2 separate regions of the Homo sapiens genome follow, and region 2 is linked to region 1. Evidence: promoter capture Hi-C in 16 types of primary human blood cells and fetal thymus (Javierre and others, 2016). All regions are on one chromosome and are shown on one strand. Each heading gives the region's core, a stretch centred on a gene start or on the middle of the fragment in contact. The rest is flanking DNA. Distances are from core to core; before and after follow the strand shown.

Region 1 (3,615 bases), core at 718-3,217:
AATGGACCCTCTTGGGACTAGAGCCCCAGGAGGCAATGGCTGTGTGGGGTCCACCTTCACTATAGCCCTGGCCATCAGTCATCCCAAGTTAGAGCCCGGCTGCCCATGCAGTGCCGCTGTGGGAGGCACAGGAAGGCGGTGCTCAGTCTGAAGGTGGTTCAGGTCCGTACCTTAACTGAGCCCCCCCATGTACCCTCAACTGGCTCCTTTATGCAGTGAACACCCTGCACCACTGCAGCCCTATATCCAGGGCTGCGACTCAGTTCCTTCTCCCCTTCTCCCAGACTCTGGCAGACATACCTCAGATGGGGGCAGGAACCAAGAATGGCGGGGCTCCAGCCCCAGCTAGCCTGTCGGATAACTGCTGCATAAGTGACACCAGGAATCAGAGCCAGGCCAGGGCCACTGATGAGCCCTTGGATGCTCACTGTGTGATGCGTGCATTTGAAATATCTGACAGTAAGAGTGAGGCCTGGGAGAGATGCAGGGACTCTGAGGATGGGGGCCAAGCTGGGCTGAGAAACAAGTTAGTGGTGTCCTGCAGCAGCCCCTACAGCAAGTGCCAGCGTGGGAGGGAGGTGGGTAGGCATGGGGTGGGTGGTATGGCACTCACAGCACTGCCTGCAGACCACCACCTGACAGCTGGGCCGGTGGTGCCAGCTAATGGCTCCCTAGTTTTCTCGTAAGTCAGACGTGGCCAAAGCAAAACACTGAGCACACAGGTTGCCTTGAGGAGCAGTGACTGCCTCAAGAGCTCAGGGCTGAGGAGCTGGCTCCAGACAGCCTGTTGCCAATGTTCAGCAACATCACCCCACTCCTGGTTACTGATCGACCTGGTGTGCTCTTGAGAGTACCCCCACCAGGCCTCATGGGTCAATACTACTGTTATTGTTGCTATTGTTATTACCAGGCCCCGCCCTCCTAAAGCATTTGCATATTTTCATCCTTAATCACAGAACCAGAATCAGTATCTTCCAGAAGAGAAAACTGAGGCCCAGGAGAAAGCAAGAGGCTGTGCTGTGCTCCCAGGGCCTTCCTGGCTCGCTGTGGCTTTGAGCTCCAGGTCTCTCAGCTAGACAATGAGAACGTCGGCCCACGCGCGGCACAGTAAAAGCCCAAAATGCTATGATGGACGGGGTGGGCCGCTGGCTGCAGAGCCCTCCATACCACAGAGCATCTCTGGCTGGGAGAAAGGAGCAGGCTGAGGCCTGCAGCAGAGCGCGGGGTTGGGGACCGCTCCTGTTGGGCCCCAGCAAGGCGCCCTGAGACCCCTGCTCCATCCCTGCCGCTCCCCACCCGCCTGCTCCTAGCCTCTGTTCTAGCTCTGCCCGCGGCGGCCACAGCCTCCCCGAGCCGCCGGCCGGGCCCTCTGCTGCCCTCTGGCGGCCCGAGCGCGCGGTGCCGAGCTCCGCGCCTGAGGCCCTGAAACCCCGCGTCCGCCCGGCGGTCGCCTCCCGGGAACAAGAGCCCGGCTGGGGACCGGAGCGGAAGGGGGCTGGGGCTGGGGCTGTGCTCTGAGGACTGCAATATACGGTCCGCGCAAGCACTCAGCAAACGCTGCTGCGCTTACTGGGTTACTTACTAGATTCCTATTCTCTGGGGAAACTGAGAACCAAAGAAAATAAGTGTACGCGCGCGGGAGGTGCAGGAATGGGGGTCCTTGCCCGAAGTCGCAGAGGGACAGGGGCACCGCCGGGACCAGAACCCCGACGCCCCTGCGGCCGCCGAGCCCGCGGCAGTGGAAAAGCGGAGTCCGAGCGCCTCCAGCCTCAGCCCGACCCTGGACTGCTCCCCCCAGCCCCCGCGCCCAGAGAGCAGGAGCCCGGCAGCGGGTGACGAGGTCGCCGGGACTGGGAGCCGGTGCGGGGGAGGCGGGCCCCGCGGGGCGTGACGCACCGAGCTGGGAGGGCCGGGGCGGGGCAGCCGAGCAGGCTGCATATAAGGGCGGCGGCCGGGCGCCAAAGCCAGAGCAAGCGGCCTGTGCCCAGATCCTGGGAGAACCCCAGCCGAGCCCAGCCTAGCCCGAGCCCAGCCCGAGCGGAGCCGGAGCCCCAAGCCCGAGCCGCGCCCAGCCCGAGCAGAGCCCTCCAGCCGCTCACCCCGCGTGCCACCCCAGCGACCCTCAGCCGCTCTCTGCCCTTCTCTCGGCCCCGCGCCCGCCCTCGCGGCCCCTCTGCCCAATGAAACTGGCCGCGATGATCAAGAAGATGTGCCCGAGCGACTCGGAGCTGAGTATCCCGGCCAAGAACTGCTATCGCATGGTCATCCTCGGCTCGTCCAAGGTGGGCAAGACGGCCATCGTGTCGCGCTTCCTCACCGGCCGCTTCGAGGACGCCTACACGCCTACCATCGAGGACTTCCACCGCAAGTTCTACTCCATCCGCGGCGAGGTCTACCAGCTCGACATCCTCGACACGTCCGGCAACCACCCGTTCCCCGCCATGCGGCGCCTCTCCATCCTCACAGGTGAGCCGGGGGCCGGGCAGGTGCGGGAGGGAAGGGCGGGGAACCCTCGGCCAGGGCGCCCCGCGAGCGCCGGTCCGGCTGCCGCGCGCCGAGTAGTGCGCTTCGCGCTTAGAGAGGCTAGCGCGCCCCGCGCGGCCTCAAAGTCAGCCCGACTTGTCCCCTGGGCGGCCACCCTCACCTTCTCCTTTTCTGCTCTCTGTGCCCCCTCTAGGAGACGTTTTCATCCTGGTGTTCAGTCTGGACAACCGCGACTCCTTCGAGGAGGTGCAGCGGCTCAGGCAGCAGATCCTCGACACCAAGTCTTGCCTCAAGAACAAAACCAAGGAGAACGTGGACGTGCCCCTGGTCATCTGCGGCAACAAGGGTGACCGCGACTTCTACCGCGAGGTGGACCAGCGCGAGATCGAGCAGCTGGTGGGCGACGACCCCCAGCGCTGCGCCTACTTCGAGATCTCGGCCAAGAAGAACAGCAGCCTGGACCAGATGTTCCGCGCGCTCTTCGCCATGGCCAAGCTGCCCAGCGAGATGAGCCCAGACCTGCACCGCAAGGTCTCGGTGCAGTACTGCGACGTGCTGCACAAGAAGGCGCTGCGGAACAAGAAGCTGCTGCGGGCCGGCAGCGGCGGCGGCGGCGGCGACCCGGGCGACGCCTTTGGCATCGTGGCACCCTTCGCGCGCCGGCCCAGCGTACACAGCGACCTCATGTACATCCGCGAGAAGGCCAGCGCCGGCAGCCAGGCCAAGGACAAGGAGCGCTGCGTCATCAGCTAGGAGCCCCGCCGCGCTGGCGACACAACCTAAGGAGGACCTTTTTGTTAAGTCAAATCCAACGGCCCGGTGCGCCCCAGGCCGGGAGCGCGCGCGGACTGGCGTCTCCCCTCCCGGCGATCCGCCCCCAGCACTGGGGAGGCGCCACTGAACCGAGAAGGGACGGTCATCTGCTCCGGAAGGAAAGAGAACGGGCCAAGACTGGGACTATTCCCCACCCCCGGTCCCCCATTGAGGCCCGCCACCCCCATAACTTTGGGAGCGAGGGCCCAGCCGAGGGTGGATTTATCTTCTCAAAGACCTAAGAGTGAGCGCGGGGTGGGGGAGGGATGTGAAGTTATCCAGCCTCTGCTAGGCTTCAAGAAACCGTCATGCCCGCTT
Region 2 (3,615 bases), core at 543-3,042, 33 kb before region 1:
GAAGTTCTTTTTTTTTTTTTTTTTTTTTTTTTGCATATGATAGCCAATTGTTCCAGTGGCATCTGTGGAAAGGCTGTCCTTTCTCCACTGAATTGCCTTAGCACTTTGTCAGACATCTCAAAATCTGGTTGTGTTAGTTCCACTTTGTCCTTTTATTTCAGAGTTGTCTTGAGTATTCTAAGTTTTTTGTATTTTCATATCCATCTATTTGTGGTTTCCATCTGATTTTTGACATAGATGATTATTGTTGTCTGTGAATAAAGACAAATCCTACTGAGACAGACTGAGACCATGTCTCATAAAAAAGAAAAAAAAAACCATTTCAGAATAATGCGTTAGTGTCCTAGCAACCTCAGCATGTCTGCCTTTAGCCAGCTGGGGACCCTTCAAGTGTTTCTTAGTGTTCTTCTGGCGTTTCCACCTCGTCTTTCATAGCTTTCAGTCTCAGGTTCAACATCTTCTGTTCCCAGAGTAGACTGGAATCGGCCTTTTAACCAAGGAGCTCTGGTTATTTTTAGTGGAAAATGATATTTGGAGACCACAGTTTGAATGCTAGGGTGCTCACTGTTCCAGGCCTCTCTAGGAAAAATGATTTTTTTTTTTTTTTTTTTGAGACGGAGTCTCACTCTGTCGCCCAGGCTGGAATGCAGTGGCACCATCTCGGCTCACTGCAACCTCCGCCTCCTGGGTTCAAGCAATTCTCCTGCCTCAGCCTCCCGAGTAGCTGGGATTGCAGGCACCTGCCGTTACGCCCGGCCAATTTTTTGTAATGGAAAAATGAATTTTTTAGAAATAGAAATAAATCATGAATTCATACCAATATTTCCACTTCAAAAGTTTTTGTTCAACCTTTCAATTTCATTTTTGTACCACTTTTATAGGAAGCTTGGATCCTAAATACAGTAACATAATTAATGTGTATATAGTCAAAATAATAATAATATCTGTATTATTAAATATTTTATCACCAACAATAGATTTACTCGATGCAGTCTAGAATCTTTCTGGTTCTTTTGTCCTCAGGCTGTGCGGCAGGAGGGAGGATTAGTCAAAATACTGTATTTCAAAATCACTTGAAACTTCTTATCTGTGTTTTTACCAGGTTTATTGATTGAGTTTTTGGATTTCTAGTAGTTCCTTTGTTCTCTCTCTTTTTTTTTGGAGACGGAGTCTCTCTGTCACCCAGGCTGGAGTGCAATGGTGCCATCTCAGCTCACTGCAACCTCCGCCTCCGGGGTTCAAGGGATTCTCCCACCTCAGCTTCCCAAGTAGCTGGGATTAAAGGCACCCGCCATCATGCCCGGCTAATTTTTGTATTTTCGTAGAGACGGGGTTTCACCATGTTGGTCAAGCTGGTCTTGAACTCCTGACCTCAGGTGATCCGCCCGCCTCGGCCACCTAAAGTGCTGGGATTACAGGTGTGAGCCACTGTGCCTGCCCTGTTCTTACTCTTAATTATGCAAAACATTTACATGGTTCCATAGTCAACAAAGGACATTTGTAAATGTCTGGCATGTCTCCTCCCTCACCTGTAGGTAATAATTTTGATCAGTTTTGGGTTTGTCCTTCCCCTGTTGCTTTTTGAAAATGTAAGCAAGTCTGTGTGTGTATCTTCCCCCAGCCCCTCTTCATGTCCTTATACAACAGGATGGGTGCACCTTCCGCACTTGCTTTTTTACTTAATGAATATATCCTGGAGCTTACACCATAGCAATAGATAGAAATCTTCCTCCTTTCTACAAGGAGCCCTTCTCCAGGGTGGGGCTGTAGCGCAGTTCATTCAGCCCCTCCCCCTGCCAGTGGACACTGGGGTGGGTTCCATCTTTATACGATGCTATAGGTAGTGCTGGAGCTAGAATTTGAACTCAGAGCCCATGTTCCTATTGCTCTTTCTCCTGTGCTCTGTGGGCCGTCATAATGGAGGAGGCGGGGAGCAAAACGGAGTGAAGAGGTTGAGCATGAGCACTGAGGCTGGGGGAGGCGAGTGTCCCCCGCTGTGCCATGGCCCCTCGGGTGTGAAGCTGGGTCATGTTGCTTTGCTGGGGCCTCGGGTGCAGGTTGTCTGGAAGTGGGCAGCTGGTGCTGGGACCTGCTCTCTGGCACTAGTGTGCTCACTGCAGGGCGAGAGCTTGGGTGCACCTTGGACAGGGATTGATTCACTGGACTAGCTGGTGGAGTGGGCAGGTCTGTTGATCTGTTGGAGACAATGACTGTTGGAGCCCTCGAGCAGGCTGTGTCACGTGGAAGGGCAGTTGAGCCATGTGCTGTGGGACGCTTTGGATGCTGCCCTGAGCTGCCACTGGTCCTATGTCCTGGAGAGGCCCTGGCCCAGGTTCAGCAGCACTGGCCAGATTGGGGCAGATCTGAAAGGAGCCAGGGCTGTGCACACCTGGCAGGACAGGTGGAACTGGGTGTTGGGAAGGGCAGGTGTGATCCAGGTCACCGGGCCGGCTGGGCCTAGCGTGTGCAGAGCAGAGGGGGCTGACACGGTGCGACCTCGGAGAGCCGCCTGTTCATATATGCACTTGCTTGCTGGCCCAGGGCCTGCCTAGCTGGCAGTGACTGGGTCCTGTGCTGGGCTCTGCTGAGCTCCCACAAACACACCCCATCCACTATGAGCCCTGGTGAGAAGGGAGAGGGGTCCAGGCCCCGCTGGGATGCGCGGTGTGGACAGCACTTGGCGTGCACATGAAGCTTATGTGACGGTATCACAGTGACCTTGATCTGGGGCTGGGGAGGAAATGCCTCGATGGGCTGTCCTCATGCTGCTGGGCCTGGGCCATCGGGGCCGGCCTAGGGGATGCCCAGTAGCCTTGGCAGCCTCAGCCATCCTTGTCAACTCCAGTGGGACTGGGGGATCCTGAATCCCACCTCCTGATGCCAGTGGAGCCCTGAGTTTCTGTTCAGAAGGCCAATGGAGGGCTGGGCTCCACCGCCTCTGAGGTCCCTGACCTCTCATAGGTTCTGGGGGGCCAGGGTGGGATGAGGGAGAGACAGGAGTCATGGGCAGACTCCCTGCTGCCCCGGGGACGTCTCACTCAGACATTTGTATGTCACCTACAGGTACCCTGGGGGCCTTAGGGCCCCTCCTCTCTTCATGGAGCCCAGCTAGTGGCCCCCTCCCTTCCTGGCTCCCTGCAAGGCGAGGGAAAGAGGAGAGGAGAGAAGGCCTCGGAGCGCTGATGTATCCATCATTCCACACAGACCCGTGCTTGTTGAGTGCCTCCTCGGGTGGTAGCCCCACGTGGGATTCAGCATAGTGCAGGCAGAGGTGGACACAGTGTGAACTGTTAGGCCACAGCCACATCTTGCCGGAGCCGCAAGGCAGGAGTTCAGGAGTGAGAAGGCACTGGCTGCGGCTCCTGGGGCTGGAAAGGGGGCCAGTCAGGCAGGCAGAGGGGTGGGTCCAGCTGTAGAAGCGAGATGGGGGCGGTTCGGGAGGCAAAAGCAGGAAGGCAGAAGGAAGCTTGGAGCTCATGAGCCCCTCTGTGCTGGCGCACGGCCCACGTCCTCTAAACAAAAGGGATGGGCTCCTTCAGTGGTTCCGTGGGCCCTTGGCAAAGCTCGTGGAAACACCAGCTCCTCCCCAGCATTCATTACCAATGCGAAGCACTA

What was found. The method cuts DNA at HindIII sites, captures the fragments that hold promoters and counts their contacts. A CHiCAGO score of 5 or more calls a contact.
Region 2: a contact is called between a fragment that was not itself captured here and the fragment with the promoter of RASD1 in region 1, in 3 of 17 cell types (endothelial precursors, erythroblasts and megakaryocytes). The highest score is 5.7, in endothelial precursors.

Annotation. Positions count from the first base shown.
Region 1 is chr17:17,494,747-17,498,361 of GRCh38, reverse strand. It overlaps RASD1 (ras related dexamethasone induced 1), which reads left to right and starts at 1,967. Exons shown (of 2, transcript NM_016084.5): 1 at 1,967-2,466; 2 at 2,678-3,615. The coding sequence starts at 2,181. The coding sequence ends at 3,237. RefSeq lists silencers at 1,247-1,476, 1,527-1,656, 1,817-2,036. The HindIII fragment of the contact is 31,419 bases long and covers 1-3,615 here.
Region 2 is chr17:17,528,039-17,531,653 of GRCh38, reverse strand. All of the region lies in intron 2 of PEMT (phosphatidylethanolamine N-methyltransferase), which reads left to right. Among named protein-coding and RNA genes, the nearest start is that of RASD1, 33 kb to the right of the region's middle. The HindIII fragment of the contact is 1,809 bases long and covers 888-2,696 here.